Regions from separate parts of the Homo sapiens genome. Here region 1 is linked to region 2. The links are contacts of gene promoters, found by promoter capture Hi-C in human tissues and cell types (Jung and others, 2019). All regions are on one chromosome and are shown on one strand. Each heading gives the region's core, a stretch centred on a gene start or on the middle of the fragment in contact. The rest is flanking DNA. Distances are from core to core; before and after follow the strand shown. Region 1 holds the start of DDX17 (DEAD-box helicase 17). Region 2 overlaps BAIAP2L2 (BAR/IMD domain containing adaptor protein 2 like 2).

Region 1 (6,271 bases), core at 2,256-4,755, 410 kb before region 2:
TGCTTGTAATCCCAGCCACTCAGAAGGCTGAGGCAGGAGAATTGCTTGAACCCAGGAGGCAGAAGTTGCAGTGAACCAAGATCGCGCCATTGCACTCCAGCCTGGGCGACAGAGTGAGACTCTGTCTCTAAAAAAAAACAAAAAACAAAAAAAGCTACATAGGCCTCTCACAATTTGCCCACAAAGAAATTCCTTGTGGGCCTCCAAGATCTTTACACTAAAACAGTTCCGTTGAATTTCACCCCGACAATGTACATTGATGGTTTACCATCACAAGCACAGGACAAAGGACAAAACTAAAAAGTCATCCCTCTGCTCGCCTGAAACAAACACATAGCTGACTGCTGCCTCTGCTCTATGATTATTTTATCTTACGTGAAAATGCAGATTATCTGAGCGTGAGCAGAAAGCATCAGTGAAGACTATCAAAGACCCAGAAGAGGACACGGACACATGGAGCGGGGGAACAACACATACTGGGGCCTGTTGGGGGTCGGCGGAGGGAGAGCATCGAGAAGAATAGCTAACGGATGCTGGGCCTAATACCGAGGCAAGGGGTTGATCTGTGCAACAAACCACCATGACACACGTTTTCTTGTGTAACAAACTTGTATATCCTGAACATGTACCCCAGAATTAAAATAAAAGTTGATGACAAAGGCCAGGCAAGGTGGCTCACGCCTGTAATCCCAGCACTTTGGGAGGCCGAAGCAGGCAGATCACCTGAATTCAGGAGTTTCAGACCAGCCTGGCCAACATGGTGAAACCCTGTCTCTATTAAAAATGCAAAAATTAGCCAGGTGTGGTGGCGTATGCCTGTAATCCCAACTACTCAGGAAGCTGAGGCAGGAGAATCGCTTGAAACCAAGAGGCGGAGGTTGCAGTGAGCCAACTGCACTCCAGCCTGGGCGACAGAGCGAGACTCTGTCTCAAAAAACAAAAGCCGTTGAGATGTCAGTTGGCCCAGAAACACAAAGGGACAGTCACAGACTCACTGGACAAGGGTATGGCGTGGTCGAATGGCTAAAAGGTCAGGCACTGTGCCAGGTAGGCACTGGGTCACGGTGGTGAACAAGTAAGTTCCTGCACTCACAGATTTTACGCTCTAGGAGGGAGACAAAAAGTGTTTATGTCAAGCAGTTACTAATTCAAATGAAAGCAAAGAAAAATGGAAAAGAGAGAATGCATGTGTACTTGTGAAGGAGGAGAGTATGCAGGTTATGCAGTGTTGCATTGGGTTCTGGGGAGGCCTCCCTGATTGAGTGACATGTGAGCACAGACCTAAACTGAGGTATCTAGCCTTGCTGACATAGAGTAAAGAGCGAGTGCAAAGGCCCTGAGGCCGAGTGTGGCTAGAGTAGAACAAGGAGGAAAGACAGAAGAGGGCTGCATCCTCAAGGGCTTGTAGGCCACTGTAAGGCCTTTGTCTTTTCTTTCAAGTGGAAACCTCTGGAAAATTTTAAGTAAAGTGACATAATAAAAGGACCCCTATGACTGCAGTGTGAAGAATAAATTCAGAGTGAGCAAGGACAGGAGCAGGCAGATTAAAAAGAGGCGAGCGCAGTCATCCAGGCAAGAGATGATGAGGATTGGGGCAGGTTAACAGTGTAAATAAAAGAACATGACCCAGGCCGGTGCGGTGGCTCACGCCTGTAATCCCAGCACTTTGGCAGGTCGACACGGGTGGATCACGAGGTCAGGAGTTCAAGACCAGCCTGGCCAAGATGGTGAAACCCCAGCTAAACTACAAATATTAGCCAAGTGCGAGGGCAAGCACCTGTGATCCCAGCTACACGGGAGGCTGAGGCAGGAGAATTGCCTGAACCCGGGCGGCAGAGGTTGCAGTGAGCCGAGATTGTGCCACTGCACTCCAGACAAAAAAAAGAAAAAGAATATGACCCAGGCGAGTCTCAATCACTTTAAGAGGTTCACTTGCCAATGTTAAGAACGTACTTGGGGAAAAAGAACACATAACCACAGAAAAATCAGTGGTCCATGTTTTTTTTCTTTTTGAAGCTCCTTTTCTTATGCTATGTTCCCAAAAATTTGGGAAACAAACACTCAGCACCCACACTGAGGGGCCAAATCTCCCCGCTTCTACCCATCTGTTGAATTGAGACGTTAGATGGGCCCGTCTCGAGGGCCCTAACAGCTCAACAGTCGTGTGACGCCATTTGGCCAAGCTTGCGGGGCTTCAAAATGCAGTTTGAGACGACAGGAAGCAGGTAAGGAGAGGGAAGCCAGTCTGGAAGGAATTGAGCGGAGAACGTGGACTAGCCTGGTTAAACACTTGTCCTTAGCCTTCGCCCTTTCTGTGTCTAAAGACCATCGCTCTGAAACCTTGTTCTCCTGAGAGTGCTGGGGTCTTCTCCGGGCCTTCTGAGGAGCGCCGTTCAACGGCAGCAAAGGGCCCACGGAGTCCACTGGGGCTCCAAGCAATTTTTTTTTTGAGACGGATTCTTGCCCCGTCGTCCAGGATGGAGTGCAGTGGCACGTTCTCGGCTCACTGCGACCTCCGACTCCCGGGTTCAAGCGATTCTCCTGCCTCAGCCTCCCAAGTAGCTGGGACTACAGGCACCCGCCACCATGTCCTGCTAATTTTTGTATTTTTCGTAGAGACGGGGTTTTGCCATTTTGGCCAGGCTGGTCTCGAACTCCGGGACTCAGGTGATCCTCCCGCCTCGGCCTCCCAAAGTGTTAGTATTACAAGCGTGAGCCACCATGCCTGGCCTCCAAGCACATTTTGTTTCTGTATTAGCAACAGCTGTGCTCGGCCAGGGACGGTAAAAATATACGGTTCAGAAAATGCACCTCAGTGTGAACCAAATGTAGCTGAGGGCACTTTAACCTGGAAGGGACATCGCCACCTCACAAACTCCGGAAAGAAAGGGACACGGCTCTTCCATCATGGCTGCCGGAGACAGAGCAGCGAAAGGCAACGGAAAGGAAATGGCGCCGGGGCCCGCCGCCATTCTCAGCGGGCCCAGGGCGGTGGGGCGAGAGGGCTGGCGGCGCCATATAGGAAGGCCAGCCACGGAATTTAAGACCCTCCCGGCCTCTGGCGCCAGAGGACTCTGAAACTTGATAACAATATGGAGGACGGTTATTGTCTCTGCAAAGCAACTTCTTCAAGCCGGCCGCGGGGTCTGTACCGAGATCGGAATCAGGCAAAATCCTCTATTCTCTAAACAGAATGCGTTACGCATACTGCGCATCTTAGCAACAGCAGGCCGGCTAACGACGCAAAGAATGTTACGTCGCACCAGAGGCGCTTCCTCCCACCTCATCCCACGTTCTAGTTCGGGTGGCGCGAGAACTCTACGCTCGCTCCGTACTTTGTTTTTCTTGTACAGACCGCAAAATACACCCATCGTCGCAACTGACGTAAAGTGCTTCCAAGAATACCCGTAGTTCCCCGCGGAGCCCTCGGGCTATTCCGAGGCGCTGTTTACGTATCGTCTCCGCCGTACGCAGCGTTAAGTTGGAGCCGACTCAGCGGCGGCCGCCATTTTGTGCAGTCGCTGGGAAGGAAGGAGACGCCTAAACCGCGGCACTGCCCGGTTTGAGCGTAGCCAAACCTGCCCACCGGCTTTGTAGCCCCGATTCTCTGTGTTTTGCTCCCGTCTCCGACGAGAGAGGCGGCGACGGTGGCGTCTGCGACGGGAGACAGCGCGTCGGAGCGAGAGAGCGCTGCGCCTGCCGCCGCCCCAACAGCGGAGGCGCCGCCGCCATCGGTCGTCACCAGACCGGAGCCGCAGGCCCTCCCGAGCCCGGCCATCCGTGCCCCGCTCCCAGATCTCTATCCTTTTGGGACCATGCGCGGAGGAGGCTTTGGGGACCGGGACCGGGATCGTGACCGTGGAGGGTAAGGGTGGGGGAGGAGAGGAGAGGCCTGGCGTGGGGGTGGGGGAGTTGCTTCTTGGGGAGGCCCGGCGGACTGCGAGCCTGGGAGCCTTGCTCTCGACCCGGGAGGCGAGGGGAGGCGACTCGAGGCGAGACAGCGGTTTCGTGCGCGGACCTCGGCCCCGGGGTCACTCGGGACCCGAGGAGGGCGGCCGCTTGGCGACGCTGGGCCTCTCCGTGCGGACGGCCGTCGTGGCGCGGCCCGGCCCCATCCCAGCCCCGCGGGGGATCGGGAGGGGCGGCCTGGCCGCATCAGCCCAGGCCCGGGCTTTGGCGCCTCGCCTGGTTTCCCGGCTCTCGAGCCGGGCCGCTTCGGGCGGGCTGTTCGATGTCTCCAGGCCTCGGCGTTCATCTGAAAAACGCGGATCTTCCTGAGAGAACACTTCAGCCCAGGAAAGCCTTACACGAAATGGCACCCTTGACGTTCTCTCCCCAGAGTTCACTGTTTAAGGCACGGGAGACGAAAAGACCAACTTCTCATTTTTAGAAATAGATTTTAATTCTCTTCAGTTATATTTTAAGTCGGAGGAAATGCATTGGGATGTAAAGCAGTGGAGTTGCTTGCCATCTAAATGACCGTGTTTGGGGGAAGGATGGGTTTTTGGGTCGTTACTTTAGTTTTAATCTTAATATTTCAGCCTTTTTTCTCTAATTGGACTGCAGCGTCAACTATTCTGCCTCGCTAGAAAGTTCTTGGTATTGTGGACCGGGCGTGGTGCCTCAGGCCTGTAATCCCAGCGATTTGGGAGGCCGAGGCGGGCGGATCACCGGAGGTCAGGAGTTCGAGACCAGCCTGATCAACATGGAGAAATCCCGTTTCTACTAAAAATAACAAAATTAGCCTGGCTTGGTGGCGCATGCCTGTAATCCCAGCTACTCGGGAGGCCAAGGCAGGAGAATCGCTTGAACCCGGGGGGAGGAGGTTGCAGTGAGCCGAGATCGCGCCATTGCACTCCAGCCCGTGGCAAGAGCGAAACTCCGTCTCCCCCGACCCCCCCGCTTCCCCAAAGAGTTACGTGACGCCACTTGATATGTGTGTGTGTGACCTTGGTCAAGATCCTACCTTTTGTGAGCCTGTTTCCTCTGAGGAACGTGATAATTGCCTTTACTTTGCTGTGTTGTCAGGAATTAAGAGATAATGGATGTAATAGTCTCACTGTAGTAGGCGCTCTGTTAACGATATTTTCTCCAAACGTTTTTGTCTTTTGTGGTTCAGATCCACAACTGCTGGATTTACTAGTCTCAAGCACTTCAGTTGCCACTTTTTACAAAATTATTTTGATTTATACCTTATTAGGAAGGAAAATATTTTATCTCATTGTTTAGAGGATGAGAGGTGGAATGTTTGCTTCGCGTGTGACAGTATTGCTAAGTTTAGAAGTGAATTTCAGTTCATTGACTTAGAAAAAGAACTTGAGATTATCTAGGAAAGTTGAAAACGACCCAGCAATTCCTCCCTAAGCTTTATACCCTAGACTGTAATGCCTAGAGAAATCCTTGCACAGGTACCCCAGGATCCTTGTACAGAAAAGTTTATATACCAGCATTCGTGCTAACAGGATATTGGAAACAACGCAAATGTCTCCATAAATTGTGGGTATTCGTACAATTGAATCAGCCGTGAAAAAGAGAAAAGAACTTGGATTAATGTGGATAAGTCACAGAAGTGTTGAGTTAAAAAGCACGTTGTGGTAGGGTGACACATTTAATTAAGGATATGTGCAAATATGATAGGAAAGGGAGTGGTTAACAAAATTCAAGGTAGTGGTTATTAGGGTGAAAGTTGTAAGCTTGAAATAGGCACATAGAGGGGCTACAAGTTACTAATAGTGTTCTATTTCTTTACCATTGGTGTTTGGTTTAATATTTCCTTTCACCATATATATGCTTTAATAAGTTATTTGAAAGGAAAAAAGTGAATTACTGATCCATACTTTGAGTATCAGATGACATTTTTTAAAAATTTCAAACGAACTAGCCTTCTTTCATAAGATCTGTGCCCCAACTCTCCCTTTCCCAAGAAATGTTCTTGATTATTTGAATTGCTGTTGTTTCAACTGAGTGTTACACAGTTGAAGTGGTGGTTATTTTGAAAAAGGAATAGGTGAGGTCAGTTCATGTATTTCACATGTGTGATGCAAAAATGATAGGCATTGTACATTTGAAGTAGTATGGTTTTTAATGTTAATATATGACTTCAAAGGTGAATTTTTTTGTAAAGCCAAATTAAACTAATTACTGACCGGATAAAAACATTTGAGCAGCATAGTATACCAGAGAGTACAGTGTGCGTATTTAAAGATGGCATGGATATGCTCAAAAGTAAAAGGCTTTCTTGAATTTTGAGGTCATTAATTATGTCAGCATT
Region 2 (6,532 bases), core at 3,437-5,936:
TGGCCAGGCTGGTCACAAGCTCGGCCTCCCAAAGTGCTGGGATTGCAGGTGTGAGCCACCACGCCTGGCCTGAGTTCACAAAATTTAAGGAGGCAGTGCTGTGACATTCACACTAGCGCAGGGTCGGGAAGGCTTCCTTTTGATTGGATCCAGCGGAAAGCGGCCCCTCAGAAGCATCTACCTGGCATTTCTATAACAACGCACGTTTCTGTTCACCGTTGTATCACTCTGGAAACCTACGTGCCACTTCCTTCTTGGTGCTGACACCCTTCTCTACACACACACTGGCAGCCATAGCTCAGGGTTTCAGTACCAAAGAGGCACCCTCAAGCTCCCTTGCAGACTAGTGGGCACCAAAGTTTGGGAAATAACTGTGGGAGAAAACCTTAAACTTTAGAAATTTTATTATGTAGTGATTTTTTTCTGCATATTGGGAGGAGATTGCCAGCATTCCTTTTCTGGGCGATCCCCTAGCCCCGTGGGATGATGTGAGGACACCTAGAGCAGGAGGAAGGACCCACTGTGGGAAAAGGGTGTGTGGACAGAGGCTGCGCAGAGGCGGGAGGGCCTCCAGAGGAGGACGTGTCCGCGGGGTTGGGGAAGCACCTCTTGTGTCCCATGCAGCCTGAACCCTCCTGCAGCTGGAAGGGTTTAGGTCCAACTGCCCAACAACATGGAGTGACTCAGAGAAAGCTGATGGAGAATACAGGGTACCAGGGCATCACCTGGGCCCACAGAATCGAAGCTCATCAAGCTCTCAGAGAGCAGCTGGTCAAGCCTTTCCTTTTTCTTTTTTTTTTTCTTTTGAGACAGAGTTTCACTCTGTCACCCAGGCTGGAGTGCAGTGGCGTGATCTCCGCTCACTACAACCTCCGCCTCCCTGGTTCAAGTGATTCTCCTGCCTCAGCCTCCTGAGTAGCTGGGATTACAGGCACGCACCACCATGCCTGGCTGATTTTTGCATTTTTAGTAGAGATGGGGTTTCACCATGTTGGCCAGGCTGGTCTCGAACTCCTGGCCTCAGGTGATCCACCCACCTCAGCCTCCCAAAGTGCTGGGATTACAGGCGTAAGCCACCATGCCCAGGCTGGTCAAGCCTTTCCTGTTACAGATGGGGCAACTGAGGCCCAGAGATGGGTGGCAACTTGTCCAAAGTCACAAAGCAAATAGGAGGCAGAACTAGAATGAGGACGAAGCTTCTGAGCCTGAGCCCAGCAGCCTTTCCTGTCCTGCCCCGGTGGCCAGACATCCACTTGCCATGGGAACCTGTCACCTCCCAGGCCCATCTGAGACCTCAACAGCTTCTGAGTGTTTTTGCTGGGCTGTGCCCTGCCCATGGTGCTGAGGACACAGAGGTGAGCCATGGCCATAGCAGCTCCAAGGGGCTATGCATGGGGCCCTGGCCATAAATTCTGTATACAACTGGAGGAATGGACAACGAAGGAACAAATGTGCACCCATTCCAGAGACAAAACGAGGGAGCAATGGATTCTGCTTGGGAAAGTCAGGAAGACAGGAAGCTGGCACTGGAAGATAGGGAGGAAATTCCAGGCAGAGGGAATGATGTCATCAAAGCACAAACTAAGAATAAGACAAAAAATAAGAACCAGAAGACTCTGACACACTTATCAAGGGTTCGTTTCCAGGCAGCACTGCACTAAACATTGTGAATGTTTAACCATTTCGTCCTCCCTCCAGCCAGGTGGTGTTCTTGTCTCCGTTTCTCTGACAGGTGGGCAGGTGCCTGGTATATTAGGAGCACGATGGGCAGTCTGTTATAGCAGAAAGTGCAAGGGGGTGCTGGGGCCTGGGAACAGTAGGGGGGCCTTGATCACCCTCACCCTGCACTCCGCTCAGGTGCAGACATTCCATGGAGGCCTGCTGCAGCACATGGAGAAGAACACCAAGCTGGACATGCAGTTCATCAAAGTGAGTCTGGCCTCCCCACTCGGCCCCCAACTCACTGCAGGCAGGACCCCCTCTCCCATTTGACAGGTAGGCACACACAGGCCAGTGCTGAGCACTGACTGGGCCCCAGATTATCCATGTTCCCAGCTGAGCCCCAAGTCTCCAAACTTCCAGGGCCCTGATCTCTGGGAGGGGTGTCTTGAGCTCTCTGATGTGGGGGGATTCTCCCTCCCCGACTCCACCCTACCCCAGGACAGCCGCCAGCACTATGAGCTCGAGTACCGCCACCGAGCGGCCAACCTGGAGAAGTGCATGTCTGAGCTGTGGCGCATGGAGCGCAAGAGAGACAAGAACGTGCGGGAGATGAAGGTGCGAGGGCCGGGAAGCGGGGGTGGGCCAGGAAGGGCGGGTGGGCAGACCTCGGGGCGAGACCGGGCCCTGGGAACCCCGAACGCCTCCCTGAGCTCCCCCACCGAGCACCAGCCCAACTGTGATGAGCGTGGCTGGGGAGGTCAGCCAGCCCCTGGTGGGGTGGGCGTAACTAGCTCCTAGGGCCACGCCCAGCACCGCCCCTTGCCCTGTGGCTTACTGGCCTTACCCAGAATCCCCGGGCCTCTCCTGCAAACCCATCCCACCTCCCCCATCTCCTACTTCACCGAGAAAATTGCTCGCTTGAACATGGTGCCAAAGGTGTCATCCACCAGCCGCCCATCCTCCTCCCCTCTCTCCTGCCTGGCAGAGGTATCCCGCCCCCGGCTAGGGCCATTCCCCTTCCTGAGCCTGGGGCCCCATCCCTGGCCTCTGTCTCCAAGATCCAAACCCATGGATTAACCCTCTGCCTCCCTTCCCGTCTCTTCTGGCTCCTTTAAGTGAGCTCACGCCTCCCCTCCTCAGAATCTTCCCCCCAAGTAGGGGCTATTAACCTACTCATTCATATTCTCATTAAACCCGTCCCCCTGCCCCCCCAGCCCGTGCTTGGGCTTGTGCTGGGTGCCAGGGACAGAGCGAAGGCTCAGACAGCAGCCCTGCTTGTGAGAAGCACCTGGGAGAGGGAGACGCAGGGCCCAGACTCATAACAAGGCTGCTGATGATGGGGCAGGCTCAGGAGCTAGGATGGGCCGGGTGATGGGGGGTGGGCTTGGGGAGAGGGCAGTCAGGAAGAACAGGGGGCTTGAACAGCTGGCGCCTGTGGGCGAGGGGGGTGGGATGAGACACACCCACCGCCCCCAGCCAGAACTCCCGTTCCCCCCCAGGAGAGTGTGAACCGGCTGCACGCACAGATGCAGGCCTTCGTGTCTGAGAGTCAGCGGGCGGCTGAATTGGAAGAGAAGCGGCGCTATCGCTTCCTAGCAGAGAAGCACCTGCTACTTTCCAACACCTTCCTGCAGTTCTTCGGCCGGGTGAGTTGGACTGGGGGGCAGCAAGCGGGGCGCTTCTAGGAGCTGCCCCCTCCTGAGTGGCCGTACATAGAGGTTTCCCTCCCTTCTTCCCTCTTCCCTCCCTGCCTGCCTGTCTGTAGAAATTCATTTTATTTTGCTATCTCCATCCATTTCTTCCTTTGTTTCTGGGTTTGCTTGTATCACTGTATATTCACTCATTTATTCACTCGTGATATTGTTTGTTTTTAATGCATTCACGAATTCATGCATTTATTTATTCATGTGTGGACCATTTTTTAATTCCTGTTTGTATATTCTCACAATTCACAAATTCATTGATAGGTGTGCTCAGTTATCGTCTATTAATTTTATCATATTATTTATTTATTTATTTTTTGAGACAGAGTTTCACTCTTGTTGCCCAGGCTGGAGTGCAACGGCACAATCTCGGCTCACTGCAACCTCTCCCTCCCGGGTTCAAGCGATTCTCCTGCCTCAGCCTCCCGAGTAGCTGGGACTACAGGCATGTGCTATCACGCCCGGCTAATTTTTGTATTTTTAGTAGAGACGGGGTTTCGCCATGTTGGCCAGGCTGATCTCAAACTCCTGACCTCAAGCGATCTGCCTGCTTCGGCCTCCCAAAGTGCTGCGATTACAGGCATGAGCTACCATACCCAGCCATTTTATCATATTATTTAAATCCTCTATGCTCTTGCATTGTTCTGTCTGCTAGACTAGTCAGACTCTCTCATCTCTCATTGGATTTCTAATAGATTTCACTTTCTGAATTGAGCTGCCATGTTGTTTGGCGTTTTTTGGCTATAACTATTCTACCTTCTTTGTAAATATTGCCATTTATGTACTTAATGTCTCTCTTAAGTTTGATGCTTTTAATTCCGCCTTGTCTGATATTAATACTGCTCTATTTTCTCTTCTCTTTGCTTATCTCTTTGTATGTTAAGTATACTTTCTGTTACTGACTTTTGAGTTTTTGACCAGTCTTACAGTCTGTGTCTTCTAATAGAAAAGGAATTCAGCCCATTCCCATTTAACATAATAATGAAGATACCTGGGTTTTATTCCTTTTAGATAACTTGAGCTAACTGTATTTACTTTGTCATTTCCTCTTTTTCTCCCACACTATTTCTTGTCAGTTTGGTTGAGTTATTATACTATACATTCCCCTTTTCCCTTTATTAATTTAGAAATTGCACTATTTTTTTCTCTCTACCTGTGGTGACCTCACTTTGTGACTTTCATAATCACATATATATCCACCTATTTTCCAAAAATGCCAACTTCACCCTACTACAGACACACACTGTTCAGTCCATCGCTCCGCCAATTCATAAGATGAGACCTTGATTTAAAGCTTTCCACAAAAATTAGGCTGGGCGCGGTGGCTCACACCAGTAACCCCAACACTTTGGGAGCGCGAGGTGGGTGGATCGCTTGAGGTCAGGAGTTCGAGACCAGCCTGGCCAACATGGCGAAACCCCGTTTCTACTAAAAATACAAAAATTAGCTGGGCGTGGTGGCAGGCACTTGTAATCCCAGCTACTCAGGAGGCTGAGGCAGGAGCATTGCTTGAACCTGGGAGGCAGAAGTTGTAGTGAGCCAAAATCAAGCCACTGCACTCCAGTCTGGGCGACAGAGTGAGACTAAGTCTCAAAAAAAAAGATGAGATAATACCTTAAGAAGTATTTTCCTGCCCTCCAACTATTCTGAGGTGGGGCCTTTGGAAAGCTTTTACTCCTGTCTTCATCCTTCCCATCCTCCACTTCCTGGTTTTGCCAAGATAGTTTAGGACTTAGTTTCAGACCTCACTAGTCATCTCTGCAGCATGACCCTTGTATTTTGATAAACTGATTTTATTTATGTGTGTATGTATTTATTTATTTTGAGACGGAGTCTTGCTCTGTTGCCCAGGCTGGAGTGCAGTGGCGCAATCTCAGCTCCCTGCAACCTCCACCTCCCAGGTTCAAGTGATTCTCCTGCCTCAGCCTCCCAAGTGCTGGGATTACAGGTGTGCGCCACCATGCCCAGCTAATTTTTGTATTTTTAGTAGAGACAGGGTTTCACCATGTTGGCCAGGGTGGTCTCGAACTCCTGACCTCAGGTGATCCACCTGCCTCGGCCTCCCAAAGTGCTGGCATTACAGGCATGAGCCACCACGCCCGGTCCTGGCTTGGGGTTCTTATCCCTCCCACGCCTCCCACGCCTCCCACGCCCTCCCCGAGTCTCTGGATCTGAACCCACGGGCCCAGGGATACATGACTGGATCCAAAGACCCAGATTTCGGCTCAGGCTCTCATCTGCCCACTGTCACCGCCTCACCCGGCCCCAGGCTCAGCCTTCTCGTCCCCTGCTATCCCACAAAAGGTCTGCCAGGGAGAAACAACTTCCTTTTTTGAAAAACAGTTTTATTGAGATATAATTCACATACGATTCACCCATTTACAGTGTACACTTTCTGGTTTGTAGTATATTCACAGAGTCATGCATCCATCACCACTATCAAGCTTAAAATATTTTCAATACCCTCCACCACAGTAACCCAGTACCTCGGCCAGGCGCGGTGGCTCACACCTGTAATCCCAGCACTGTGGGAGGCCGAGGCGGGTGGATCACCTGAGGACAGGAGTTCGAGGCCACCCTGGCCAACATGGTGAAAACCCGTCTCTACTAAAAATACAAAAGTTAGCCAAGCGTGGTTGTACATGCCTGTAATCCCAGCTACACAGGAGGCTGAGACAGGAGAACTGCTTGAACCCAGGAGGTGGAGGTTGCAGTGAGCCAAGATTGCACCACTGCACTCCGGCCTGGACAAGAGCGAAATTCCGTCTCAAAAAAAAAATACAAACCGGTACCCCTTAGCTGTCATTCCCAATCCTCCCACTCCCCCAGCCCCAGGCCACCAGGAATCTACTTTCTGTCTCAATACATTTGCCCATTCTGGACATTTCATATAAACAGAATCATACAATGTGTGTGCTCTTTTGCGACTGGCTTCCTTTTCACTGCTGGATAATATTCCATTGCTTGGATACACCACATTGTATTTACTCGTTTACTCGATGTATTTACTCAGATGTTAGCTGATGGACGCCTGGTTGTTTCCACTCTTTGGCTGTCATGACCACTGCTGCGCTGAGCATCCATGTACGAGTCTTCATGTGGACATATGTTTTCATCTCTCTTGGGTATATAAGAGTAGAATTGTGGGGCCATATGGTAACTCTATG

What was found. The method cuts DNA at HindIII sites, captures the fragments that hold promoters and counts their contacts. A contact is called where the count stands out against the background at its distance.
Region 1: the fragment with the promoter of DDX17 here is called in contact with a fragment that was not itself captured in region 2 in 3 of the 25 tissues and cell types used here (aorta, dorsolateral prefrontal cortex and lymphoblastoid cells).

What each region holds. Positions count from the first base shown.
Region 1 is chr22:38,503,545-38,509,815 of GRCh38, reverse strand. DDX17 (DEAD-box helicase 17) reads left to right here and starts at 3,505. Exons shown (of 13, transcript NM_006386.5): 1 at 3,505-3,865. The coding sequence starts at 3,579. It also overlaps a transcript of DMC1 not described here. RefSeq lists enhancers at 2,670-3,079, 2,657-3,548, 3,480-3,669, 3,549-4,440 and silencers at 3,760-4,029, 4,060-4,229. The HindIII fragment of the contact is 16,171 bases long and covers 1-3,774 here.
Region 2 is chr22:38,093,808-38,100,339 of GRCh38, reverse strand. It overlaps BAIAP2L2 (BAR/IMD domain containing adaptor protein 2 like 2), which reads left to right. Exons shown (of 14, transcript NM_025045.6): 5 at 1,858-1,929; 6 at 2,161-2,277; 7 at 3,162-3,308. Among named protein-coding and RNA genes, the nearest start is that of SLC16A8, 13 kb to the right of the region's middle. RefSeq lists an enhancer at 1,454-2,008. The HindIII fragment of the contact is 3,515 bases long and covers 2,929-6,443 here.